Linked DNA regions of Homo sapiens: all the other regions are linked to region 2. The links are contacts of gene promoters, found by promoter capture Hi-C in blood cells and fetal thymus (Javierre and others, 2016). All regions are on one chromosome and are shown on one strand. The core of a region is centred on a gene start or on the middle of the fragment in contact, and the rest is flanking DNA. Distances in the headings are between cores, read along the strand shown. Region 1 overlaps YEATS4 (YEATS domain containing 4). Region 2 holds the start of TBC1D15 (TBC1 domain family member 15). Region 3 overlaps RAB3IP (RAB3A interacting protein). Region 4 overlaps FRS2 (fibroblast growth factor receptor substrate 2). Region 5 holds the start of CPSF6 (cleavage and polyadenylation specific factor 6). Region 6 overlaps ATXN7L3B (ataxin 7 like 3B).

The links. Contacts are between HindIII fragments. The CHiCAGO score rates a contact against its expected background, and 5 or more counts as called.
Region 1: a contact is called between a fragment that was not itself captured here and the fragment with the promoter of TBC1D15 in region 2, in 1 of 17 cell types (neutrophils). The highest score is 6.5, in neutrophils.
Region 3: a fragment that was not itself captured here is called in contact with the fragment with the promoter of TBC1D15 in region 2 in 1 of 17 cell types (naive CD8 T cells); the score reaches 5.4 in naive CD8 T cells.
Region 4: a fragment that was not itself captured here is called in contact with the fragment with the promoter of TBC1D15 in region 2 in 6 of 17 cell types (activated CD4 T cells, total CD4 T cells, non-activated CD4 T cells and 3 more); the score reaches 8.0 in activated CD4 T cells.
Region 5: a fragment that was not itself captured here is called in contact with the fragment with the promoter of TBC1D15 in region 2 in 3 of 17 cell types (activated CD4 T cells, non-activated CD4 T cells and total CD8 T cells); the score reaches 5.9 in activated CD4 T cells.
Region 6: a fragment that was not itself captured here is called in contact with the fragment with the promoter of TBC1D15 in region 2 in 1 of 17 cell types (total CD4 T cells); the score reaches 7.7 in total CD4 T cells.

What each region holds. Positions count from the first base shown.
Region 1 is chr12:69,385,034-69,389,974 of GRCh38, reverse strand. All of the region lies in intron 6 of YEATS4 (YEATS domain containing 4), which reads right to left. Among named protein-coding and RNA genes, the nearest start is that of YEATS4, 28 kb to the right of the region's middle. The HindIII fragment of the contact is 5,671 bases long and covers 1-4,941 here.
Region 2 is chr12:71,837,483-71,841,947 of GRCh38, reverse strand. TBC1D15 (TBC1 domain family member 15) reads right to left here and starts at 2,189. Exons shown (of 17, transcript NM_001146213.3): 1 at 2,137-2,189. The coding sequence starts at 2,166. The HindIII fragment of the contact is 6,842 bases long and covers 1-3,674 here.
Region 3 is chr12:69,749,131-69,753,897 of GRCh38, reverse strand. All of the region lies in intron 1 of RAB3IP (RAB3A interacting protein), which reads right to left. Among named protein-coding and RNA genes, the nearest start is that of RAB3IP, 13 kb to the right of the region's middle. The HindIII fragment of the contact is 3,242 bases long and covers 1,826-4,767 here.
Region 4 is chr12:69,578,632-69,583,473 of GRCh38, reverse strand. It overlaps FRS2 (fibroblast growth factor receptor substrate 2), which reads right to left. Exons shown (of 9, transcript NM_001278356.2): 9 at 3,681-4,842. Among named protein-coding and RNA genes, the nearest start is that of MIR3913-2, 3.7 kb to the left of the region's middle. The HindIII fragment of the contact is 3,759 bases long and covers 1-3,314 here.
Region 5 is chr12:69,239,369-69,243,729 of GRCh38, reverse strand. CPSF6 (cleavage and polyadenylation specific factor 6) reads right to left here and starts at 4,161. Exons shown (of 10, transcript NM_007007.3): 1 at 4,024-4,161. The coding sequence starts at 4,083. RefSeq lists enhancers at 2,845-3,424, 3,425-4,005 and silencers at 3,469-3,688, 3,839-4,338. The HindIII fragment of the contact is 823 bases long and covers 1,379-2,201 here.
Region 6 is chr12:74,542,805-74,547,651 of GRCh38, reverse strand. It overlaps ATXN7L3B (ataxin 7 like 3B), which reads right to left. Exons shown (of 1, transcript NM_001136262.2): 1 at 2,222-4,847. Among named protein-coding and RNA genes, the nearest start is that of ATXN7L3B, 7.4 kb to the right of the region's middle. The HindIII fragment of the contact is 7,760 bases long and covers 1-4,847 here.

The sequences.
Region 1 (4,941 bases), core at 1,359-3,858, 2.5 Mb after region 2:
ATTCCCAAGAGAGGATCTAAGATGTTTCCTACAACTAAAAATAAAATTCTGGTCACCAACTCACAGTTAAAATTTTAAGACATAATGTCCTTTTTTCCATACACATATTAAGATTGAAATAAGGGGGCACACAAACCCAAGATACATCAGCTAATGAGAGGTGACTGGGCGCAGTGGCTTATGTCTGTAATCCCAGCACTTTGGGAGGCTAAGGCAGGTGGATCACTTGAGGTCAGGAGTTCGAGACCAACCTGGCCAACATAGCAAAACCTCGTCTCTATCAAAAATACAAAATTAGCAGGGCGTGGTGGTGCACACCTGTAATCCCAGCTACTCTGGTGGCTGAGGCATGAGAATCACTTGAACTTGGGAGGCAGAGGTTGCAGTGAGCTGAGATGACGCTAGTGCACTCCAGCCTGGTCGACAGAGTGAGACTCTGTCTTAATGGGTGGGGGTGGGGGGGAAGCGTTAACTACAAGTATTCTTAAATTTATATACAGGTGAAACTTTTTTTTTTTTTTTTTGAGATGGAGTCTCGCTCTTGTCGCCCAGGCTGGAGAGCAGTGGCATGATCTCAGCTCACTGCAACCTATGCCTCCCAGGTTCAAGCAATTCTCCTGCCTCAACCTCCTGAGTAGTTGGGACTACAGGTGCATGCTGCCATGCCCGGCTAATTTTTTGTATTTTAGTAGAGACGGGGTTTCACCGTGTTGCCCAGGCTGACTGCGAACTCCTGAGCTCAGGCAATCCGCCCTCCTTAGCCTCCCAAAGTGCGGGGATTACAGGCATAAGCCACCAGGCCCGGCCCAGGTGAAACTTATAAACAAAATCACACTATCAATACAAGCCAATATCTTTTTTTCAAATAGGTGGCAATAACTGCTAAAATTTGAATCCCAGCTCTGCCACTTACTAGCTGTGACACTGTAAGCTATTTCACCTATGTTCCTCACTTATGAAACAGAAATGATAATGGCAAATACTTCATAATATTATTTGTTGAGAAAACTTTTGAGACAGGATCTTACTCTGTCACCCAGGCTGGAGTGCAGTGGTGTGATCTTGGCTCACTGCAAACTCTCACTCCCGGGTTCAAGTGATTATCCCACCTCAGCTTCCCAAGCAGCTGGGATTACAGGTGTGAGCCACCACACCCAGCCTGTTGAGAAGACTTAATGAATTAATTTATGTAAAGTACCCAGAATACTGCCTGGTACAGAAAAAGCCCTATCAACTATTGTTATGAGAAAAGAGAAACATTAAGTGATATCTGAAACTATCTATCTATAACAAAGTACTAAAGAAATGTTACTGCAAAACAGGACACATCTATTTAAATATGCCACTTGGATATGTAGCATGATGTTTTACAAAGAAAAATATCTGCTTGTGTCTAACATTTCCATCTTGTGGACATTTTTGGTAACTGCTGCTCACTATTAAAGTACACTTATACTTACTTTCACTAATAAAAGATGGTCACTAATTGGAAGCCAGATGGTTTGGTGGGAAAAAAACCCAACTATGGAAACAGAAAAGATCTGATTTCAAATAAACCCTTGCTTCCTTATTAGCCGAATGCTAACATTTCTAAGGCTCCATCAATCTCTTTGTACGATACAGCTAAAACTAGGTATTTCTCAGAGGATTTACGAAGATTACATGAAGTAATTATATGTAAAGCATCTAGCACATAAAAAACATGCAATACACGGTAAAACCCTGTCTCTACTAAAAATACAAAAAATTAGCTGGGCATGGTGGCGAGCACTTGTAGTCCCAGCTACGCGTGAGGCTGAGGCGGGAGAATGGCGTGAACGCAGGAGGCGGAGCTTGCAGTGAGCCGAGATCGCGCCCTGCACTCCATCCAGCCTGGGCGACAGCGCGAGACTCTGCCTCAAAAAAAAAAAATAAAAATAAAAAAAATAAAAAAATTCAATGAATATTAATGAGTTCTTTCCTTATTTTGCTCATTGCTGGTGACTTGCTTTTTGTGATTGTCAAAACAATTCATATTTTACTTTGTAATTCTTTTCATTCTTTTACAAATTATTTTTATACATAGGTAGTACACACAAGATTACAAATTAAAAGATTAAAGAGTAGACAGTGAAAAAATATGCCCTTCTACTACACTTGTTCCCCAGCCTGCCATGACCAATCAGTGCTTCTTCCCAGAGATAATCACTGTTGTGTTCTCTGATATCTTCCCAGAAATAGTCTGCTGATATACAAAGCATATACCCAAGTGCAGTTTCTTCTTCTTCCCAACACAAGTGGTATCATTCTATACACATTGTTTTGCACCTTGCTGTTTCACTTAACATTATATCTGGAAGCTCACCCTATAACACAGAGCTGTCTCATTCTTTTTAATGACTACAGAGGACCTAATTGAATGGATAAATAAAATTCATTTAGTCTGCCCCCTATTGATGTACACTCAGAGTATCTCCATTTTTTTCTTTTACAAACAATGCAATAATGTGTATGCTGTAAATAATCATTTTAGTATATTTGTAGGATAAATTCCTGGAAATGGAACTGTTATAGAATATATATGTACTTGTAATTCTGGAAGAACATCAAGCAACTCAAAAGGATCTACCAATTTATAATCCCATTAGCATTGTGTCTGTTTCCCTACTGCATCAACTTTTTGGTCTTACCTAACCTGAAAGGTTAAAAACAGTATTTCTGTAATTCGCATTCATCTTATTACTATTGGGGCTGACTCATCTTTTTTATAATGTTTGAGACATTTCTCCCTTTCTACAAATGATCTGTTTTCCTTTTGCTCATTTTCCTATTGGGTTATTGGCCTTTCTTATTGATTTGTAAGAGCTATATACAGCTTTATACAGTAGTCCCCCCTCATCCATGGTTTCATTTTCCATGCTTACAGTTAGCCACTGTCAATAGCGGTCTGAAAATAGGTGAGTAAAAAGTAGAATAAGATTTTTTTGGGGGGTGGGGTGGGGAAAGAGCACACATTTACATAACTTTTATTAGAGTTCATTGTTATAATGTTCTATTTTATTAATTAGTGTTGTTAATCTTTTATTGTGCCTAATTTATAAATTAAACTTTATCATAGGTATATATGTATAGGAAAAAACAGTATATAGGGCTTGGTACTATCTGTAGTTTTAGGCATCCACTGGGGTTCTTGGAATGTGTCCTCTCCAGATAAAGGGGGACTACTGTATGTTAAGAAACTAGTCATTTGTGACATGAGTACATTTTTCTATGGCCTGTCAGTCTTTAGACTTTGTTCCCAGTGCTTTTTACTATGCAGAAATTTGTATTCCCCTATACCCTCTCTCCCCACATCAATTTAAAAAACACACTGAATGATATGCGCTTTGTTAGATGCTGGGGTACAGAGGCAGGAAACAGGTAAGAAAAAAATGCACTAATGTTATGAGGTAATCATAGGGAACGACAAGAGTAGACTGGATTCAAATCAAGTAGAAAGGGTGAGTTTTATGAAGGAGGGCTTCTTGGTAGTAGTAACATCTAAACTGAATTTTAAACAATGAGAAAGGAGTTAGGTAAATGAAGTGGGCATACAGGCCCAGGAAGCAGCATAAAGACAAGGAGTCCTGTATAGCTGTAAGCGGTAGTTTTAAAACTAGCCAGGGAGACCTGATTAACTCAATTGTCAGAAGGACAGCATTCACTGTAGATATAACATAGATTTGTTGTTTGATTCATGATACTTTTATTTTTGACAACTTGTAAGACTGCGAAGGGCACTAGATGTTTGGAAGAAGACATGAGTTAATTAGCAATGAGATCCTGGGGGAAAACATTTTAAAACTTCTTTTAGCTTGTTCCAGTGTTCTGCTTCCTATGTGTTAAATGCTTATACAAAAAAAGAAAAGTTTCTGTTTTTAATTTCCCAATGAAGCTCAATTTCGAGAAAACAAATCCAAAGAATTACTACTTTTATAAAGTCAGTTCAGCATACTGGTTAGGAGACAGACTATCAGGCTTTTTACAACTTATTAGTTAAGTGGACAGATTTTGGGTTTAAAATGCAGGCTCTACTGGGTAATTTTGGGCAAGTTATCAAATCTTTCTAGAGCTTTTACCTACAAAATGGTGCTAATCATAGTATCTTCCTCCTAGGGTTATTTTAGAGTATTAAATAAGTTAAGAAATGGAAAGTGCTTGTCAGGTACATAGTAAGCTCTCACTAAGTGTTCACTATCATTTTTACTATTTCTTGAAGAAGCAACTAAAAAGCTAGATCATTAGTGCTTAAACTTCCAATATACTCCATAATAAATATTCTCTCTATAAAAATACTATTAAATTTTTGGAGCCTAAGTTCTGAGGACTGCCAGGGATCAAGTTCTGATTCTACTACTAACTAGCTGTGTGACCCTGGGCAAGTTTCTTAACCTCCTTATACCTCGGTTTCCTTTTCTAAATATTACCTAATAAAGCTGTTATAGAATTAAGTGAGTTTATACATGTACAGACTCAGAAGAATACAAATAGTAAGCACTGAATAAGTCTGGCATTTTATTATTACTAAATATTGACTATCATATGCCCTCAGATTATTAAAACTATACATATTTTTTAGACCTTTGATTAATATTCCCAGATAGCTTTCCTAAAGAGCTAAATTTATACTCACAAAACAATTCATGAGAGTGCAAAGTTTACTCTTAATCGGTACAACTATTTAAAATTCCTGGCTGGCATGGTGATTCATGCCTGTAATACCAGTACTTTAGGAGTCTGAGGTGGAGAAACCTGCCCCTACAAAAAAAAAAAAAATTAGCCAGACATGGTGGCACATACCTGTAGTCCTAGCTACTGTTAGGGGGCCAAGGCAGGAGGATCATGTGAGCCCCCAAGTTTGAGGCTACAGTGAGCTACGATCATGACACTGCAACCCAGCCTGAGTGACAGAGCGAGAACCTG
Region 2 (4,465 bases), core at 940-3,439:
TCCCCTTTCCTAAAGAAAAAAGATTAGGAAGTAGGGAAGCATAAAGGTATCATGTCTTTTTATGTTACATTAACCAGCTTTCATTATTATTATTATTATGCTGACGATAAAAAAGTGAAGAGTTTTCATTTGCTTTTTAAATCAAGAGATTATCAGGTTTGCGCATTAGAAAAATAACTCCAGTGGTGGTGTAGAGAAGATTAAGGGCAGAGACTGTAGAAAAGGAGTAAAATCAGCCAAGAAATCAAGAATAGAAGCAGACTAAAAGCCTGAACTATGCGCTGATAGTAAAGAAGATGCAGTAAATTTAAGAAACCTCTTAAGGTAAAACTGGTAGGACATGGTTATTGATTAGAGAGTGTTATAGGAATGAATGCCTCCAAGTATGTTTAACATGCAACCAGGTGAAAGATGATGCCATTAAACCAGATCTGAACTTACTGAGAGAAGAACAAGTGGGTTTTGTTGGTCATGATAGTATTACTTGGGAGAGGAGCAGCTTTTGGCATGGAAAACTAGTTTCAGTGGAGTGATGGCAATAGATGTGAATTTGCAGTGAATGAGAATAAATGAGGTTATGAAGCAGAATTACTAAATATAAGTCTCACTTTAAGAAGTCAGACTATGAAAGGTAGTGGCTGCAAAGAGTGAAAAATGTTTTTCATTTCACAACTCTGCTTCATTGCCTCAAGGATTCTTTCAAAATCAATCCAAACCTGAAAGAGGGAGATGTTTAAACGGAAGGGATCCCCTCTTGAAAAGTCCCAGCCTGGATCAGTTTAGATGGAAAATCAAACAGGATAATCTTCAAATACGCAGTAAGTCAAGCAGTATATCAGCATCCACCCTGAATATAAAAAGAAAAAAACTGACAAGACAACCAAGGAGCACGAATAATCCAAAAAAGGATGCCCACCTATCCTTTAAAAGAGCCAGTAGGTACAAGTGTGTAATTTTATGTTTTTTTAAAAAAAAATTTATATAACCCTAACAACTCCAATACAAGAAATAATGATTGGCATCTCCTCCATTCTACAGATAAAGAACGCGAAAAGACAAAAGTCACAATTGCCCAATTTTCCAAGGTCATACTTCAGATTAACAGCAAAACCAAGCCCATATTTGTCATTCAGCCGCCTAGTCTAATACTCCAAACACCAAACCACAAACGCTGTCAAATAATTCAAAATGGGGTAGGGAAAGCAACAGGGAGACATGAGTGAAACTCAAGGAACAGAGGACGCTATCTGCAATGAGTAAACAACCATTAGTGTTCGATGAGTCACTTCAGTTGATTCCAGCTGTTTATGAAATACTCCTGCACTGGGAAATACTATCGGTGGCATATCATAAAGCTGATAGCCCTAACTATGCATAAGATGTGCCCTCGGAACGCGAATAGGCACTATTCGACGAAATCTCCGCACGTAATTCTAGTTTCCAACGAAATTAGGCGTGTCACTGACCACCTCCGTAAACCAGCATGACCAATACTCCTACTGAAATGCCTAGGAAATAAATATTTGGACGCCTTCCTAGACAAGCACAGGATGGTGTAAATCTCCATTTCTCTCAGGAAACACGTCCTGCTGCTCACAACCACCAACCAACTCAGCAGCTTGGTAAAAACAGACCCAATACACTCGTTTCTTCTAAGCGCACAGCTAGCTGCCTAGCATCTATTCAGCTCCTCCCGAAGGAAGCATAAACATCTTCACCAAACTGTAGCAAAGAAGACAGAGGCAAGTCGGGTTAACGCTTCAAAGAGAGAAAAGACGCTGGAGTCAGAAGAGTAGACATAAAGAACTAGAGTCAAGAAACAGTGAATCGGGGGAAAAAAGGAACTAGAGAGCCACCTGTCCCTTAGTAAAGGTAATACGAATAAAAGCCTCTCTGCTCTGGGGCAGAAGAGCGCCGAGGCCTAGCTGGCCTTGGAGCAGTAGCCGGCTCTATAACTCCGCGGCTGAACTGGCATTCTCGGGAAACCAGCTGGTACCACCCAGTCTTCTCCTACAGACGCCACGGGTTGTCCGGACACAGAAAGTCCCTCGTGTCCCTCCCCCAACCAGCTGCCAGGGAGCAAAAGCATCCCCGTCCCAGAGAAAAGCCGAGGTCTTCCTGGAGGCCGTTACCTACCTTCCCGCTCACAACACCCGCCGCCGCCATGTTTCCTGCGCGTGCCTGGTAATGACGTAGCAGAACCTCACGTGTCTCTCGGACATACAACAACATCCGGCAAAACTAGAATAACATCCGGGCGGGAAAAGGGCGGGGAGTGGCGGGAAGGGAGTGGAGGAAAGGAGCCGGGCGGAAAAAAGCCGCCTGACGCGTGCGTGCTGAACTGGGCTCAGAGACGGCTGGGGTGGAGTCTCAGGCCTAACGCTACGCTTGTGCTTGCCCCACGTCCTCCCCAAGGAAGACTGCTAAAATAATGTGTACCTTACTTGTATTGGAGTTTGTCGAGACTCTGAAGCTAGCGCAGGCCACGCCAGTTTGGTGAGATGAAACGAATACCATACTGGAAGCCAGCAAGATTTGTCCTGGTTTTTTGTTGTTGTTGTAGAAAAGGAGTCTCGCTCTGTCGCTCAGGCTGGAGTGCAGTGGCGCGATCTCGGCTCATTGCAGCCTCCGCCACTCGGTTCAAGCGATTCTCAAGCCTCAGCCTCCCGGGTAGCTGGGATTACAGGCGCGCGTCAAACGCCCAGCTAATTTTTAAATTTTTATTAGAGACGAGATTTCGCCAATGTTGCCCAGGCTGGTCTCGAACTCCTGACTTCAGGTGATCCGTCCGCTTCAGCCTTTGCCCAGAGAGCTGGGATTACAGGCTTGAGCCACCGCGCCCAGCCCATTAGCCTGGTTTTGTGGCAGTAGGCAAATCACCAGTGCACTCGAAACCTCAGTTTCTTATAGTAAAATCAAGATAGTGGCGTTGCGGTGAAGATCCAAGAAAGAGCAGCACTAACATGGAGATATCCCAGGCACTATACATGGAGACTTTTCCCCTCTGTATATGAGGTTTCTCTATTTGTCTGGTCACTGCCACTCACACATGACCTCCAGCAAGGTATTTCGATAGGAACTGTGATAATACCACGCCCTCATAGCTGCAGAGCCCAAGGCACATAGTTTATAGCACCTACACATTACTTATTAGCTCTGTGACTTAAAGCAGGTTTCTAAATTTATCAGAGCTTCAGGATGTAAACTGGGAATTACTCCTGCATGGAGTGGTTGTAGGGATTTCATACGACAATACATGTGTGGTAAAATGATTTGTAAAGATACTAAGGTAAGAATTTTACTTGTTCTCAGTGCTGTAAAAGAATGCAGAGAATGATTATATACTACCCCCTTGATAACTCTGGCACAGATCTGGGATTTCCCTAGCTCCGGGGCAGAATAAAAAGTCCCTTTCACCAAAAACACTTGTGTCCATTGAGGTACTTCCGTCTTCACACAGTGGAGAGGGGTTAGAGGCTTTTGAGTTTGGTTGAGGTAGGTGGCAACTAGCTGAACGACAGAAAAGGAGAGTTGCCGGTTATGTGACTACCAGGAACCTAATAGGTGAGGAAAGTGGTGGAACCTTAGGTGGGAATGAATGCGTAGCATATTAGGGAGATTGCGTGCTAGGTATCTGAGATTCCAACCATGACCAAGACCCTTATGCCCAAGCTTGGCAGGGAATCAAGAAAGCAGCTCACCTACAAGGGATGAATGAGGTGGGAAAATGAGAATATTAGCAGTAATCAGCATTGAGTGAAGACTAGAGGGCCTTTTCCAAATGTACTGGACTGAGACTAAGACCCCTAGAACCTTCATATAATCTTGGGTGTGGAGTGGAAAATCCTACTGATGACCCAAATTACATTTTCCACCAGCTCAGAGCATTGGGATGTGGTTAGAGAAAAATTTTAATGTGACATCACATTTCTTACACCCTGTGTTTTAGAGAAAATTTGAAGCCCTTAGCACAGTGCCAGGAATAAAAGGCTCAATAAATGTAGTTATTACTTATATTTTAAAATATAAGTTTGAGAACTACAGGCTTCTCATTGAAAAGCATCATTGGCATCTCAGGTTCATCTGCTACTTCTTGACCTTCTTAAATTTCATCCTACAAGTGTGCCTTAAATAATGGCGCTACCCATGGGCTGGCCTTGGGCCTCTCTTCCTTTTTCTCCAAACACTATTCCTGGGCCGTTATCCTCATATTCTGGCATCAAAATCTCCTATGTACTGATGACTCCCAAATATTCCCAGCCCAAGTCTCTCTTTCCTAAACTCTAGTCCCTGTGTCCACTGCCACTGGACTTCTGACTTGAGTGAGCTAATCATACATCAAAAAAGTATAAGCCTTTACTACTCAAAGTGTATGTGTACAGACCAGCAGCACCAGCATCAGTTGAAAGCTTGTTAGAAATGCAGAATCTAACTGGGCACGGTGGCTCATGCGTGTAATCCCAGC
Region 3 (4,767 bases), core at 2,197-4,696, 2.1 Mb after region 2:
AAGTTTACATGGAAACTAACTTGAGTGTACCACTCAAGTTTTTCCTCTGAAGAATTCAAAGCTAAATGGCATCTTACAAATTCTTTATTGATTTTCCCTGTCTGCTGAATAGAGACCAAACTTCTTAGCCAAAAAAGTAAGGTCTTCTAGGATCTGAATCCAATCTCTCTTTCCAATTTTTTTCCTTCCTATGATAGTACTTTGACAGTTGTGAATAACATCTTCCCGGAACTTAGAAAATGCCAAACAGGTCAGGCTTGGTGGCTCATACCTATAATCCCAGCACTTTGGGAGGCCGAGGCGGGTGGATTACTTGAGATCAGAAGTTCGAGACCAGCCTGGCCAACATGGTGAAACCCTGTCTCTACTAAAAATACAAAAATTAGCTGGGCATGGTGGCCCATGCCTATAATCCCAGATCTCGGAAGGCTGAGGCAGGAGAATCATTTGAACCCAGGAGGTGGCAATGAGCTGAGACACTGCACTTCAGCCTGGGCGACAGATTGAGATTCCAACTCAAAAAATAAAAATAAAAAAAATGCCAAACCAAACAATATAGCACATCATTTCTTCCATAAGATACAGAAGTAGTCATTTGTTAAACTAGCTGAAAAATTTAACTCTCAAATCCTTAATAAAAAGTGTTAATACAAGTAGAGAATAAAAACAAAAAGATTTCAGCAAAGTTGAAAGAGATCTGACTCAGTATCATTTCAAAATTACAAATTAGTATGTGTCACAGACTTTCCAGCATATAGACAACCCAAAGTGCAACAATTAAATCTACAAATGACAAATTTCAAATCCAATCAGCTGTTTACTAATAGCAAATGATTTATTCTTCAAAATGAAACTAGTCCTTGCTTTTTTCACATAAAATATTCACTATGCCAAATGAAAGATGAGATTAATAAGGAATGTAAGGTGTTTAATACTCCATTAAAATTTATTATTTTTTCACCCAAAAGAATTTTCATTTTTTATTCATAATCCATATACCCACATATACCAAGAAAACTGCTATATTCAAAGTACATAATTCATTTTCACTTGAATATAGTTCAGGCAAGTACACTAACCAATTCATTAACATAAAAAACCTTTGTATTACGTTTGCATTAAATTTTGACATTTTAATCAGTAACTATTTATGATTCTTTCTTCTATCCCATATACTATGAATTCACCTCTTTATATCCTGAAGGTTCACTGAATCATAAAACGTAAAAGCATTTGCATTTCTGGAAATACAAAATAGTACAAATCCTATGGAGGAAAATTTAGCAATAACTTCAAAATGATATTAAACCTGTGACCCAGCATGCCACTCCTGGGGCTTTATCCTAAAGATAAACTGGCAACATGACAACAGCACTCTTCGTAATAGCAAAAAACTGATTCAATGAACCAGGGTACATCCTCATAATGAAGCACTGCACAGATGTAAAATACATATCCATGTATCGCTATGAAGTGACATCGAAGATATACCAGTAAGATAAAAAACAGGATAAATAACAGTAAACTACCTTTTATCTAAAAAAGGAGAATAAAAATAAATAAATATATATATATAATTTTTTTTTAATGGAAAGGCTAGGTTCAGTGGCTCACACTTGTAATCCCAAAAACTTGACACACAGAAGCAGGAGGACAATTGTGGCCAAGAGTTAAAAGACTAGCCTGGGCAACATAGTGAGATCTTGTCTCTACAAAAAGTTGTAAAATTAGCTGGGTGTGATAGTGCAGGCCTATAGTCCTAACCACTTGGGAGGCTAAGATGGGAGGATGGCTTGAGCTGAGGAATTTGAGGGTACAGTAAGCTTTGATTATACCACTGCACTCCAGCCTGGGTGAAAGAACGAGACCCTATCCTGAAAAAAAAAAAAAAAAGAACAAAAGAAAAAAAAGCAGGCAAAATGGTTACCTATAGAAGGAGAGATGACAGAGTGAAAAATATGAAAGCTAGACTTTTTTCTGTAAGTACCTTGCTTTACAGATTTGATTCTGAGCTTGGAACCATGTAAACAGTAAAAATTAAAGTTTAAAAAAGAATCCCTAAACATAAAGCAAATAAACTTGTGTACTGAGATGGTAGCTTAACCACACAGAAAAGAACTACTTCGAGTGATTTTAAAACATAACAACATAAATATATATCCCTAATGGAATGTATTCTAAAAGCAAAAGGAAGTGAAAAAAGTCACAACCTATTTTCAATGTTAATAACAGTAGTAATATTGATACTGTGATTCTGAAACTTTGTTATAAGATGAAGCAAATAAGTTATGCTAATGTCATTTGGAACTAAGATTTTCAGCATATTAGAAAAACTACAAATATAAAATCAAAGAATTTAAATCCTAGAGGCCTAAATTTTACTCAGAAACACCAGAAAAAAAATTCTAAGTTTATCCAATGAAAAGTTGGTCAGCATAGCAACGCTGACCAACTCAGGAGCCATGCGCACCCATGTACTCAGAGTAATACCATGTCCTCCAAAAAAAAGAACACAGGCTCCTTGGGAAAAATGGCTGATTCCAGCCTGGGACAGAAATGTACGAAAGGACCCTGGAACATCTTGTTATACCAGAAAGCAAGCACACCATCAAAAACTACTGGACTGATATCAAACGGACTCCCACTAACCAAAAACGGGACAATCTGAACATCAAAAAGGATAATATCTGCAAAGAACTGAAAGGCAAATATTTTTAAATCCATGAGGTCATAATGACACTAAAAATAAAGCAAAGTACCTCACTGGCCTTCTCTGATCAATGCTATGGAACCAATTCATTATTTTCAAAATTGGTAAATAAAATGAAAGAATGAAGTATTTTATCTGGCTTTCCTGTATATCAAAGAACTGAACAGCTCATGAGAAAAAGTTCTTTTTAGCAGAATTCCACTTAATAAATATAACTTTGGAATCCTAATGAAATAATGGATTTAGGGCAATAATTATTTAAATAGCTATTAAAACCATAAGGTAAAAGGTTGTTTGAGGAACTTTATAGTTAATCAATCAGAATGACAGTACCTGAACTCACTGATCACATCTTGTCACAAAAACGGAGACAATCAAACATTATGTATATTATGTGGCAAATAAGAAATGAACATCACTGCCATTAATAAAGCATTCTGGCCTAAGAAAAAAAAAAAAAAGAAAGACCCCAAATCAAACAAGCCTCTTGATGGTCATCAGTTTATAGTAAATACAGAGGAGAAAGGAACATGTTAAATAACACCACAGGGACAAAAACAGCAAAATCTAGACTTTGGGAAACTCTCATCATAAACAAACTACTTGGTTTTTCCAATAAACTGTAAAAAAAAAAAAAAAAAAAACGAGGTAGAGGGAATTTATAAACTTAAGAGAATTAACTAAACACAATCTGTGGGCCTTGTTTGGATTCTTCTTTGAATAAACCAACTGTAAAAACAAATTATGTTATTAGGAATTATAGTTAATTTTAGGGATAATAATGGCATAATGGTTGTATTTTTAAAATCCTTATCTTTTAAAAAAGATACACACTGAAGTATTTATAGATGAAATAAGATTACTTGGATTTGCTTCAAAATAATCCAGGGAGAGAGGAAGGGAATGGGAAGCCAAGGAGCCAAGTCATTCAACTACCAGCCCCAATCTCACAGGAAGTTAAGGTGGCTCCTCCCATAACAGCTAGTATTCGTTGAGCACTTACTAAATATTAAGCATAGCGCATCTATGGTTGAGGAAACTGCAGCTTAGAGTAGTCAGAATTAAAGCCTACCGTTATTAGACCCTACTGTCCAAGCTCTTAACCACCACGACACACTTACAAGTAGAACTGCTTTGCCACTCCATTGTTCCACTGTTCTAGTGAAAATGTTTCTCTTAGTTTTGAATTAAAATCCATCATGCCTGCAACATTAACCCTATTTTTCCCACATATAAACACAGTATTTCAGCCATTCTTTCAGCAAGTATTTACTAATGACCTACTCTGTGCCAGGATCTGGGGAAAGAAGAAAAATCTACTCTGCCTTCAAACAGCCTATTAGAGTAGGAGACTGACAAGTAGAGGCAATGATATGTGATAAATGCCACAGAAGATGCAAATAAACTCAGAGACCACACGGGAAGGACAAATAAATCAGAGACAAAGGATTCCCGAAAAAATAAAGCCAAAGGAAAGATCCAAACAACAAGCAAGAAATGAGAAAGACAAAACCTTTGTAAGGGCTTTCCAGACATGTCCACCATGTGAAAGCAAAGCATTTATACAAAACGCAGTTACTCCATTAGCTGGAGCACAAGCTATGAATATAAAGTACAAGTCTCGAAGAGAGGCAGGTTTGAATCCCACTTCTGTCAAATTACTGAGACAATCTGAGCCTAGGTTCTCCCATCTGGAAATCTGTGTCTTGGTTTTGCTACCTAACAGAATGAAAATTAAAAGGGATAATACTACATAACAGCAGTCCCCAACCTTTTTGGCCCCAGGGACCAGTTTCGTGGAAGACAATTTTTCCACAGACAGGGCAGAGGGTGGGAGGAGATGGTTTCGGGATGAAACTGTTCCACCTCAGATCATCAGGCATTAGATTCTCTTAAGAAGCATGCAACCTAGATCCCTTGCAATGTGCAGTTCACAATACGGTTCGCACTCCTATGAGAATCTAATGCAGCTTGCTGATCTGACAGGAGGTGGAGCTCAAGTGGGAATGCTCGCTTGTCCGCCACTTACCTTCTGCCACTTACCTCCTGCTGTGTGG
Region 4 (4,842 bases), core at 186-2,685, 2.3 Mb after region 2:
ATGGGGAAACCAATGACTGCTCCCTGCTGGGCTTTGAATGTAGCCAGAGGCATTTGGATGGGGAGAAGGAGGCAGGCCCTGCCACCTTGTGGAACTGAGGCTAGAGGCAGCCAGGAAGAGACTCTATGATGGGACCCTTGGAAATGTGTCCTTTCTCCATTGCATCTTTTGACCCTTCCTTCTTTCCTACTTCCCCCTCCTTTGATGACACCTCTACACCTAGAGGCTAAACACTCAGCTTCTAGACCCAGACTATATGAGTTTGAATTTCAACCATTTTACGTACTAGCTTTGTAGTCTTGGGTGGGTTTCACAGGCTCTTTAAATCAGTTCATTGAAGGCCATTCAGAGCGTGATCAATGTGCTGGTTTACCAAAAACTGTCTCTTTTAGCTGTTTATACTTTTTTGTTGTTGTTGTTGTTGTTGAAACAGAGTTTCACTCTGTCGCTCGGGCTGGAGTGCAGTGGTATGATCTCAACTCACTGCAACCTCCGCCTCCCGGGTTCAAGCAATTCTCCTGCCTCAGCCTCCCAAATAGCTGGGACTACAGGCATGCACCACCACAGCTGGCTAATTTTTGTATTTTTAGTAGAGACAGGGTTTAACCATGTTGGCCAGGGTGGTCTCGAACTTCTGACCTCAAGCAATCTGCCCACCTCAGTCTCCCAAAGTGCTGGGATTACAGGCATGAGCCACCACACCTATATATATATTTTTTAATTGAGACAGGGTCTTACTCTGTCACCCAGGCAGGAGTGCAGTGGTGTGATCTCCACTCACTGCAACCTCTGCCTCCTGACTTCAAGCGATCCTCCGACCTGTCTCCCGAGTAGCTGGAAATACAGGCATGCGCCACCACACCAGCTAATTTTTTGTATTTTTGGTGGAGACGGGATTTTGCCATGTTTCTCAGGCTGGTCTTGAACTCCTGAATTCATGCGATCTGCCCACCTTGGCCTCCCAAAGTGCTGGAATTACAGGCAGAAGCCACTGTGCCCATCTATTTATACATTTTATCGTAATTTGTATTAGATAGGTTACAGGGCCTATGGAGATAGTGAGACCTTGGGAATCCATGTTTCTGTGATTAAACACGTTGTGTGACTTTCTCCTGGCTCATCTTCTGTCCTCTACTCTCAAGTCCCTTGGTCTTGGCTTCTCTTAGTTAACCCTTCCTCCTCCCTCAAAGTCTTTGTGACCCTCTCCTCTCTATGACCCTGTGTCCTCCTCTCTCTTCCCCTTGGTATAATTTGGCTTTCAGTGAATTGGCTTTTTGTTAACTGGTCAGCTTCCAGTTATATAATCTCTCTGTGCCTCAATTTCCCTTTGTGTAAAATGGAGATAATTATCACAGATTAAATAGCTTAGAACAGTGCCTGTTTAGCTTAGCTATTGTTATCATTATATCCCAAGTCTTCTAATAGGCTTTATAAATATAGTAGCCGAGGTTGGATATGCTTGGCATGTTATGGAAGTAGGAAAGCACTGTAGCATATCATTATTTGATGGCTAGAGGTGATTTGGGAGCAAGGGTAGATTCATTAACTGGAGTGAAATAACTGGCGAAGTGGCAAACAACCACCAGAACAGAGTTATGGGACTTGTCAACATTCCTCAGGAACAGTTAGAATACCTGGGGAAGGAAACCAAATAAAGGACCAGGAGTCCACAGTCACATTAAGTTGGGTCCACCCAGACACCTACTGTTTGGGTAGTAGGGAGAAGGTTAGAAGACTTGATATTTCTCCTGTTGCAGACCGTGATAGTTTGTACACAGGAATCAGTCTGTGGAGCACACTTAGAGGAGCACTTTAAAAAAAAAAAAAACAGGGTCTCATTATGTTGCCCAGGCTGGACCACAGTGGCAGGATCACAGTTCATTGCAGCCTCAACCTCCCAGGCTTAATCTATCCTCCTGCCTCAGTCTCTTGAGTAGCTGGGACTACAAGCACACACCACCACGCCAGTTGATTTTTGTATTTTTTCATAGAAACAGGTTTTCACCATGTTGCCCAGGCTGGTCTCAAACTTCTGGGCTGAAGTGATCCACCCTCCACAGCCTCCCAAAGTGCTGGGATTACGGGCATGAGCCACCATGCCCAGCCCCCAAATATATCTTAAATCTCAATGAACTGACACCATCAACCATCTCAGTCACCCAAACCAGATAACTGGGGGTCATCCTTGACCCCTCCATTTCTGTCATTCCCCTTATCAATCAGAGGTGTTAATTCTTCCTCCTTTAGGCCCTCTATTACATTGGTGGCCCTGAATAAACTACACTTTTGATGTTCATGCTTTTATATGAGCCACTGTAATTCAACAAAATACAACAGAATTGACATTGTGCCAGTTCTGGGCTTAGGCCTCAAGAAAGCCTAGCAGCATCTACTTTTGTGCTCTTGGGAACCCTAAGCTGCCATGTAAGAAGACCACATGAAGAAAGACCCAAGACTTCATGGAAGAAAACTAAGGAACACAGCTGAGAGCTTTAAGTTCCAGACATAACCTAGTGGAACTGGTCCAGCCAGCCCTCAGCTGCTTGAATCATACTAGCATAGGCACAAAGCATATGAGGAAGCCAGGCCTCCAGACATCATGTGAGATGAGCCATCTCTGCTGTGCCCTGCCCATCTCGATCTATAGCAACTTGAGACATTAAATGATTGCTGCTTTAAGCCACTAACTTTTAGGGTGGTTTGTTGCACAGCAGTAAACAATCTAAACAGTCCTTTAACAATGCCTTTGAATACGGATTTATCAGATCTGGCTCCATTTCTGAAAAAGCCTCTCAACCAGTCTCCCTGCTTTATTAAAATACCGTAGGGCCAGCTACTTGGGAGGCAGAGCCAGGAGAATGGCATGAACCTGGGAGGGGGAGCTTGCAGTGAGCCGAGATGGCGCCACTGCACTCCATCCAGCCTGGGCAACAGGGAGAGACTCCGTCTCAAAAAAAAAAAAAAAAAAAAAAAAAAAAATACTGCGCCCTTCACGTATCCATGTTGTCAGAGAAATCTTTCTAAACTATTATTTTTCTGGTGTTTAAAATCCTTCAAGTTCTCTCACCTAATTTAAACAAAAGCTCCTTAGGATTCTGTGATCTGTTTCTCATTTCTCCTTTCTTCTGTATCCCCCAACCCTGCCTTTGCTCTCCATGCGCTTAGTCATTTGGAACCTCTTGCAACCACTGAATGTCATGATCTTTCTATACCTCTGTGCCTTTGCACATGCTATCCCTTCTCCCTAAGACATCCTCTCTAAGCTACAAAGACTTTCAACAAACCACCTCAGGGATCACCCCCTCTAAGAAGCTTTGCTTGAAAACCTCCACCCCTAGGCTGAGTTGGATGCCCTTCCTTTGTGTGTGTCTTTATCATGCCAGTTACATCAATCACTTGTGGACATGTCCATCTCCTTCATTGTTTAAATAATTTCCATCTTGACCTGTACTCAACTAAGGCTTTGCAATGTCACTCAGTGGCTAAAAACAGGTTTGAAGTCCCAGAGCTGAGAACTACTATTTGGAATGATCACACAGCTAAAACTGTGAGAAAGCCTGTCATATAGTTACAATTTCATTTTGATATCTTCATTTTGAAAATGGAGGCAGTGATATGAGACTAGGAAAGAAAATGTCACAAAGTTTCAAGTAGTATGTGAAATATAAATACAATAAAACTTTTAAGTAGATATCCGACCAAACGTTTTATTGGGGTTTTATTGCAATCTACTTTCAGCAATAAGGGGAAAGTGAGCATGAAAAGAACTCCAATCAGACTTTATTCAATAAAGCAGCTTTTCATGAATGCTTCAGGTCAGTGTATGATCAGCTCAGCTTCCAGTATCAACTTGAGTACCTCATTATGGATATTTATGCTAGAATGACAACAGTAAGGCATTGCAAAATCCAAAGTCATCTAATATTAAACCATATTTTACATAATTTGTAGGACAGTATACTAATACTCTACAATAAATAAGGATTTAAAAATGTGTTGCTTAGCCCTTGAACTAAATTCAATTACTAGCTTATTCTAAGTACTCCAGTTAATAAACGTTTGATTGTAAAGAACTCTGACTTCTCCAAAGATAAAAAAAATTAGTTGTCATGACAAAAATTAAGCTTAAAAAGCACATTCACACTTGTCCTTAAAAGCAAGTTTACATCATATATGAGAAAACTTTTCATGCCTGATGACATGGCTTATATGGCAAAAAACAGTCATATGCAAAGGACAACTAGAGGGCAATCGTCCCATCCCCACTTCCTCCAAAAAGCCACACTCGGCCTCAGTGTAAAAGTTATATTTTATTGCCATGCTACAAAATGTATGAAGTTGGCACTGATAGGGAGAAATAGAGAACAAAGGGTGGGAAGGGATAGAGGGAAAATTATGTTGTTACATATACAACAAGGTTTTATTTTAATTAACAGTGGTTACGTTTTGCCAATATTAAAAATGCAAACCAAAATTTAAAATGCTGATCTGAAACAGCATTAAGATACAATGTATGCATAGTACAGTATCACTTATGTCTTTTTATTAGAGAAATATGGAATGTTTATAAAAGAAATTAACCATGGGGGTAAAATTCATATTTCATATACAATTTGGCAATGGTAGTCCCACTGTTGGACAATTTTTTATAAAAGAAAAAATTAAAAATCTAATAAGCTACCTTTATACAAAGTTGCTATATTTATGCCTTTACGTAGGAAAAAAACATTTATAATGCAAATTAGGACATACAATAGTCTTACAATATTATACAATGTAATGAAAATAAAACATAACACAAAGTTTGTCCTTTATAAAATGTATATTTTGCATTACTAATGC
Region 5 (4,361 bases), core at 541-3,040, 2.6 Mb after region 2:
CATTCACCCACCACTCACTTGCTGACTCTCCCAGAGCAACTTCCAATCATGCAGGTTCCTTTCATGAGTGCCCTACACAAGTGTGCCACTTTTTATCTTTTATATCAAGATTTTCACTTACCTTTTCTGTTTAGATATATTAGATACACAAATACCACTGTGTTACAACTGCCTACAGTATTCAGTACAGTAATATGTTGTACAAGTTTGTAGCCTAGGAGCAACAGGCTACACCATATAGCCTACATGTGTAGTAGGCTGTACCTTCCAGGTTTGAAATGCAAAAGCACTCTATGATCACAAATGACAAAAGCACCTAAGATGGACTTCTCAGAACATACCGCCATCGTGAAGCGACACATGATTGTAGAACAGTTTACTGTCATAAAAGTTAGCTAAATATAGTATCTCTCAAACTACCTTATTGTATGTAATATTTTCAGACCTCAGAACCACGGGTAACTGAAACCACAGAAAGTGGAACTGTGGATACGTGTGCACTACTGTATGTAGGTATCTCTCAGCTCCCCTACAGTGTACTCTAAGGGTAGAGACTACCTAAACTTTGTATCCCTCGTTGTTGGCACATAACAGACACTCAACAAATGTATTTTGAACAATTCAATCTTTTTTTTTTGAGACAGGGTCTTGCTGGAGTGCAGTGGCCCGATCTTGGCTCACTGCAACCTCTGCCTCCCAGGTTCAAGCGATTCTCCTGCTTAGCTTACTGATTAGCTGGGATTACAGGCAGGCACCACCATACTCGGCCAATTTTTGTATTTTGATAGAGATGGGGTTTCACCATGTTGGCCAGGCTGGTCTGCAACTCCTGACCTCAAGCGATCTGCCCACCTTGGCCTCCCAAAGTGCTGGGATTACAGGCATGAGCCACCACACTCGCGCTAAACAATTCAACTTTTAAATTATTTAGTTTTGGCCAGAATTTTAAAATCTACAATTACTAAATATTGGGCTAGTAATTACTACACTTGAGTATAAATGCAGTTTAAACTGAATTGATATGCTACTGTGAGACAGAATCACTTTCTTCTCAACTTCAAGTAATAGAGAGGTTTGGAAGATGTTCAAATTCCCCTTCCAGCTGTTCTCAGCTTGGTGACATCCAAAGACCTCTAAGAACTAAAGAGAACCCATAAGGAGTAGCCAGTCCCTTGTGCCTCCTCCCCCCTTCATTCTCCATTCTTAAGTTCACCTGGTGAAGAAAGGCACTCTATTAGAGCTTCACTAATTTATTATTCTCAATCTATCCCCAAATTAGTTTCTGCTAAGACTGTTGAATGCCTCACTTTTTTCTACTTCAATAGATGCAAATCACTTTTTGAAATAATACTGTGCCTTACCAAAATACAAAAAAGCTTCATAAAAGTATGACATTTAAAATAGAAGACTCAGCAGGATACAGACAAAAAATAGTAGAAAATGGAAATAAAGACTATCCCGAATTTCAAAGTATACAAATCCAATGAGAACTGCAGTTTACACTGGAAAACAAAGATTTTTTTTTTAATGTTTACAACAGCTTTGAAGCCAAAGTAAGTCAAAACTGGCTACTATTTAGTATTTTACTCAACGACAATAAAACAAGAGTTCTAGTCTACTATAGCAACTAGTAGAAATAAGGTCGCCAGCTAGTAAAGATTAAATCAGTTGTAAATTATTTTGTGGTTGCCTCTAATTCTGGTAAGATTTTGGAAAAATATTTCAATGACAGTAACATATTTTTAAAAACAAGATAAGCTCTGAAAATAACCAACTATCCTTTTGTGACCTTTTTTTTTTTTTTGGTACAGAAACTACCACAGCAAGAAGCGGTAATGTAAAAGGATATACAAATCAATCAATCATTGATTGGCCAATGATATGCAAAGTAGCAAAAACAATGCCTCTATTTATCCTCGCCATTAATCTATTCAAACATATAAAGATTTTACTGGTAAAATTATACAACTGTGTTAGACGTAATGCAGTAGGTACCTTATACAAATCATTGAAAACTTACATTTAAAAGGAGTTCCTCATTGGGTCCACAAAACTAATCTCTTTTTACCTCCTGCCCAGTCAGCACTTGCTACTGCACAGGGATAAGAATCCACCCAGCTATCCGGATAAGGGAGATGTCCCTCTCAAATTAAGTATGCAAAAGCCTAAAAATATTTCATTAAGAGGTACTGAAAAAAGCTTAACTTCTAAAATTGAGACCCAATTCTTCTTTTATTGTGCATAGAAAGGTGAACCAATGTATTATCTTGTAAGTAAAGCTAATAAAGGCAGTCTTGAACACTCAATCGTTGTTCCTTGCAGTTACAGCCCTCTTTTAAACGCAGTTATATTCATTTGATAAATAAAAGGAAAAAAATTTCCTAGAGGTCTTATAAGCGTTAGAACCTGTGTTGCACTCGAGGAATGTATCTGATTTGTAATGGACACAACTCAAGTATTATTATTTAAAACATAAGCACAATTTTAAAAACACAAAGATTTAAAAACTTAACCTTTGATTACAATGTATTACATTTAAACAAATCCAGTCTTTAACTGAATAGCAAACATTTAAAGCCAACTGGTATTTTTCTGTTTTCTAATATTTAAACCAGAGGCACAAAGTCATTCCTGAAAAATAAAACAGTAAAGATCTCTTGAGTTTCCTTGTTTTTTAAAAAGCCTGAGCAACTAGTCACGAATATGATGGTTAATGGAGGTGGGAAAACCACATTAGCCAGTAATATTTCATTAAACTTCTCATAGGGACCTGGGAAATACAAAAAAATAAGGCTTTTAGGAACATTGCAGTTAAGCACAATTTAATTGTTTTAAATGTGTTACTACATAAAATGCAGTAGATACGAACAGCAGGTTCAAACCTTAAACGTCACTAGCAACAAACGACATCTTTTGCAAGGATGCCCATTAACAGACATCACAGCCCCGCGTTACCTCTAAGCAACGTCGTTCAGGAAAACCTTGCATTCTCACTTTCGCTCAACCTTTCAAAAGGTAACACGGGGCCCGGGGGTGGGGGTGGGGGGATTTAACACTTTGTTTTCGAAAATAGGGTCTTATCTATAACTCTTTATTTTTAAACCACATCATAAGGATTTGGGGTGAACGTTCTTTCATTTTAATCACTATGAGATCTGTGGGTGAGCTAACATCTTTTTGTTCCATCCAACCATCGCGCTTCCAATTCTTCCTTTTGGTCCCCGGCCACTCATCTTCACAGGTATTTTCATCACAAAGGCCAACAACGACTGGGCTTCAAAGCACTGCAAGCCCTGGATTAATGAGGCAGGACCAGCGCACCGACTTTTATCTGTGGCTCCAAAAGTCAAAGGACTTGTTGCAAATGAGCCCGCACCTCAGTCGCCTTCAGAAAGTGTGAGGGGAGGAGGAAGGCGCCACGCCGAAACCTGTCGCAAACCCGAGAAGGAGAGCCCCGGGGACTGGGCGCGCGGGATACAAAGGGCCGTGAACGCGGCCTTCCATGAGGCGACAGTGCGCGGGCAGGGAGACAAAATGGAGCGATGGGAGGAATCGGAGCCCGAGCGGCAGCGGCGGGGAAGGGGCGGCGGCGGCGGGCACGCGCCCCGCCAGGGCTTCCTCCTCCGACCAGCGACGGGGGAGGGGGCGCGGCGGCGGCCAGTTCTCTCCGCCGCTTACACGCGGCCCCACCGCCCGGGCCTAGCGCGGCGGGAAGCGCCAGCCGGGTGCCGCCAACAATAGGGAGCGAGGCAGCGCCGGCGAGGGAGGAGCCGGCGGCAGCTGCACAGCGGCCCGCGTCCGCGCTCCGGGCCCCGCGGCGACTCGCCGCGCCCGCGGCCCGTGAAACGACGCGGTAGAACGAGGGGCGGGGGGGCGCCACGCCAGGGGTCGGCGGCGCGGCCCAGAGGCGGCAAGGGCGCACACTCTGCAGTCGCTTCGGCTCGCGGCCGCAGCGGGCCCCGGGTCAGCTTCCCGGCCGCAGCGCCGCCCGCGTCGGCGGCGGGGACCTGGGCTCTCACGTACCTGGTTGAACTCTTCGCCGACATCCGCGTAAATGTCTATGTGGTCCACGCCGTCCGCCATCTTCCTTCAGCCTCGGCCGCCGCCGCCGCCGCCGCCTCCTGCAGGTCTGCCCGCCGCGGCAGCAGCAGCGGATCTAGCGGCGGTGGGGGGGCGCTTGCGTCACTTCCGAGGCCCGAGGGAGGGAGGCGCGGGCGACAGGGGCCGGCCGGGGGCGGGGACTCTGCAGCCCAGCCGCTCTGCTGGCTGAGGAAAGGCTGCGCCTCTGAGGGCAGAGGACGTTTCTTTTGTGTCTGGGTGAGGCCCGGGAGTGGGGGCCAATTTTTTTGTCCTACTCGCGC
Region 6 (4,847 bases), core at 396-2,895, 2.7 Mb before region 2:
ATCACAAACTTAGCTTCTTAAAACCTTCCTTTATTTTCTCACAGTTCTCTAGTTCTAAAGTCACAGTCTGCTAGGCTGAGCTTTGTGCTAAGGGTCTTACAAGGCTGACAACGAAGTGTTAGCTAGTTTGGGCTCTTATCTGGATGCTCTGGCAAAGAATCTGCTTCCAAGCTCATTCAGGGTTTTGTTTGTTCGTTTTTTGCAGAATGCAATCCACAACCTATTATTGCCTTAGGTCTGATATCCCCATTTCTTTGCTATCTGTAAACTGGAGGCCACTCTTAGCTCCTAGATGCAGCCACATTCCTCTCATGTGGCCCAGTCCATCTTCAAAGCAAGCCATGGTGCACTGAATCTTTCCCACACTTAAAATCTGTCTTCTTCCACTACTAGATGAAGAAAACTCTGATTTTGAAGTGCTTATGTGATTGGGTCAAGACCACCTACATAATCACCACATGTTAAGGTCAACTGACTTGGGACTTTAATTACATCTGCAAAATCCTTTCACAGCAGATTACTATTTGGTTGAATAACCAGGGGACAGGAATCTAGAATTCTCCTTAGCATACTTGAGACTGAGTCTCACTCTGTCGCCCAGGCTGGAGTGCAGTGGTACGATCCCAGCTCACTGCAACCTCCATCTCCCAGGTTCAAGTGATTCTCCTGCCTCAGCCTCCCAAGTAGCTGGGATTACAGGCACTCACCACCAAGCCTGGCTAATTTTTGTATTTTTACATCGTATTTTGTATTTGGTATGTTGGCCAGGCTGGTCTTAAATTCCTGACTTCAAGTGATCTGTCCACCTCGACCTCCCAAAGTGCTGAGATTACAGGCGTGAGCCACCGCGCCCGGCCACAACTTACCTTTTGCACTTTCAGTATCTTGAAATATCTGACATAACACCTAATGTCGTTTATTGACAGCTTTGTTTCTTCTGAAACATCTTCATTCTTTTTCATTACGGCCAATGTTCTCATTGACTGAGTTCTTCTGGCTGTATATCTTGGGCCTCTAGAATGTTGTGTCACCATTCTGAAGATCAGCCATCTTCTAATTACATTCAATTGCAATTCAAGTGTTATCACTTTTTTTCTTTGCTGCACTTTCACTTTTTGATTATCTATTTTATTTAAAAAATAGCATGTAAGTTTATCACTGGGAGACGAGGCAACACAACTACTCTGCTGTGCATGAACTGCTTCATTCTGATTCATTCCTTCTCTTTTTCCAGCTTGATTAAACTGAGATTTTACCTATACAATGACGTTAAATTTTTTTGGAATACATTCTTTGCACTTTTATTTCTATTACTTTAATTTTTAAAACTGCATTATTTTCTCCTGTTCTTTGCTCGTTTAAAATTCCATCTACTAATGTACAGATTTCATTTAAGGCCATATTCTGTATCTAATAATTCTGAGAAAGTTCTAATTATATATAGTCAGCAGAAATAATAAACTATAGAGTTAGAATTCCTTTCTTGTAAACAGATTTATTAGATAAAAAGTATGATGGCTATAAATGAAATCTTTAAAGAAACAGATGCTTCTTTTATTGCAAACTTATATTTTGTGAAAATGTTGAAGGAACAAAATTTTGTCAGGTAGCCAAGAGGTACAATATCATTTTCAATACATTATGAAATTCTCAGGTCAAAGTTTCTCTGACTGGCAGGGTAGGGTAGCTATGTGAAACCAAGTGTATGGGTACACATTCCCAAAGTAAATGTTGATGATAATGGCATGACTGTTATTATTTTAGTCAATTCATTTCACCTCAGGCAATAGCAGAGTCTTTCTTTTTCATCTGTTCTCTCTAAAGTAATGAAGGTTTCTCTTATCTGTCCACCCATTAATCAATCATTTATCAATCTATCTAGTTTTACTCTGCCCATCCTTTCACCAAGGATATAAACTTTATTTCAGGCATCTTGCATTTACAGTTTCAATTTGTGATGATCAGGGTCTAATCTCCCAGTATCATATGGTATCTATATTTTCCTCAGTGCACTCTCCTTTTCTGTTTTCATTTGTATCTTTGGGGTGTGTGTGCGTTAGAAGAAAGACCTGGGTATTCTGGGTATTTCCTTCACTTCCTTGGGAACACAGTAATGCATTTAAGAGTATCTTTACCTCAATTTACTTAGCATACTGATGTCCTATATCAATTAGTCTGCTATCTACAGGAACATAACCATGAAAGTGGAAGTCTCATCCAATATTTTTGGTATAGTTTTTATTTCATATTCACAATTATTTAAACAACATACAGCATTGATTTGCCTATTGTTAAACATCAAAAGAAAGGCAACAAAGTATAAGAACATAGGTTTACTATTTTATTTGTACAGCTCTGGTTAATTTATTCTCACTTCAGTATAGTGACTATATGTATTCCAAATGGGTATATTACTTTCAATTTTTCCCTATTACATATAATGCTGCAACAGGTGGAAATATTGGGATATTGGTTACTTTTGTCTTCAACCACAACAGGTATTTCTAAATTGCTTTTAAAAACATTTTTTACCAATTTACAGCCTACTAGCAGTTTAAGTGTTTTAATTGCTCCATATGCCTTTCAGAGTTGATGTCATCACCATTTAAAAAAATTTAATCATACTGAGTAGGGTAAATTGGTATTTTGTTTTTAGTTTGCATTTCTTTGAACCTAAGGGAACTTTTACAACTTTTTGGCCATTCATATTTCTTTTTGTAAGAATGAGCTGTTCTTTTACTTTATACATTTGGCAATTGTACAACTATTTTGTTAGTAATCTTTAATCAGTTATAAGAACTAAACAACTAGCACATCAGGTTATTGGTTTGTTTGTTTCTAGTATGATTTAATGAACAGAAAGTTCTATTTTTATTATGGTCGAACACATCAATCTTTTCTCTATGTTTTGTACTTTTAAGAAATTTTCCCCTTATACACAATTATGAACACATCCTCCTATATTTTTCTAGAAAGATTTGACATTTTTTACTTTTACACATTAAATCTTTAATCCATATAGGAATTAATTTTGTGTCTGAGCACAGTTTTATTATTTATGGATAATCTGTTCCACAATACTGGTTTATATTCCACTGATTATAATACAAATTTAACCACACATCAAGACATAAACGTGTAATCTGTGTGTTTCGATCTAATTCTAAACTCTATTCTATTCCATTGTTTCTGCACCAAAACTAAAATATACATCTGTCAAAAAGATCTTGTCTATTCTAGCATCTGGTGTTCATATAAATCTTAAAATTAATTTGTCAAGTTCCATGAGCACATCTATTTGGATTGTAATACAGATTGCTTCCGATTCACATAATTTGGAGCAATGATATTGATTGCATTTTCTGTGCGTGAACATCTTCTCTCCATTTACTTGGGATTTTCCCAACATATTAGAAAATATTATTTTCTTTATAAAATCTTACACAGTTCTTGTGATATTATTTCATAGGACTGTTATAACTTGTTGAATTACATTCTAAATTTAATAACACTTTTTAAATGTTGGTATTCTGATTTTAGATATTGATCTTATATCCAGTAACTGTGCTAAATTTTCTCACTACTTTCAATGGTATGTTTGTAGATTCTATAAAATTATCCATGTAGATGTAGATGTCATCTGAGAACAACTGTTTCTAGATTCTATAAAATTGTTCATGTAAATATCATCTTAGAACAGTAAAAATTTTGTTTCTTCCATTCCTGCTTTTAAAGGGAGTGCTTCCAAGTATTCATTAATAAGTATAGTAACTGGTGTAGATTTTTGGTACATACCCTTTTGCAGTGTGTACAAGTTCTTGAGCTTTGGTTTCTATATTGTTAATGTCTTTGTTTTTTAGGCAATAATTCGTATTGAATTTTTTCAAACTATTTTTCAGTATCAGTTCAAATTTTCACATGGATTTTCTCTAATGGTAATGTGATGATTTTGAGATGAAATCTTGCCATCCTGTGATTAAACTGACTTGTTGATGTTTACTTTTGTTATTTTAAAGGAGTTGGTTTGCTAACATCTTCATTTAAAAAAAAAATCTATTTTGGTATTATTTTGCCTGTTTTTGTTGTTGTTGTTTCATTTACTGTATTCTCTATAAAATTCTAATTGTGTGGTGTTTTAAAAGTTATAGATGTATTCATTTACTTAAAAAATTAACAATTCCTTGAGTTACTTTTGAGTTCTATTTTAAAATAGACTTCCCTTTTTTTGTTTTCAAATTCATTGCCCTAACGTTGTTCATAAGCATCATGGATTTTTCATTGTTTTGTTTTTAATTAGTCGTTTGATTTATTACTCCATTGCTTCAACAAAGACCGCTGACCTAGGAGTCACAACAGCAGCATTCTACTTTTGCTTCCACCACTTGTAAATTTTTGCTTTTTGAACTATGGGCAAGTCACTGCTGCTGAAGATTTTTTTTTCATCTCTAAAATCAATTTAGTATTTCCTTTTTAGCTCACATATTTCCAATGAGTCTCAAGAAATATGATTGAAAATGTTTTCAAAAATGGGAAAACAAATACAAACAAAAACACCGCCAAGAGTTTAAGGTTTATCCACAAAACCTTTTTGAATAGGAACATCACTTCTAATGCTGTCCTCCAAAGCAACATTATGGGCATCTTTTGGAACATAAATGAAAATCAGAGAGCTCGTAATCCTTCACAGCAGAGTAAAACTTCTGAAATCTGGTATTATCTCTGGCTGACTTGAAAACTGGCAATTCGTTAACCATAATTAAACAACAACATGAAAATAAATTTAATAATTGTTGTGCTTTTAGCACATAGTTTCTTCATAAATCTCTTTTAAAAAATTGTAAGAAAAA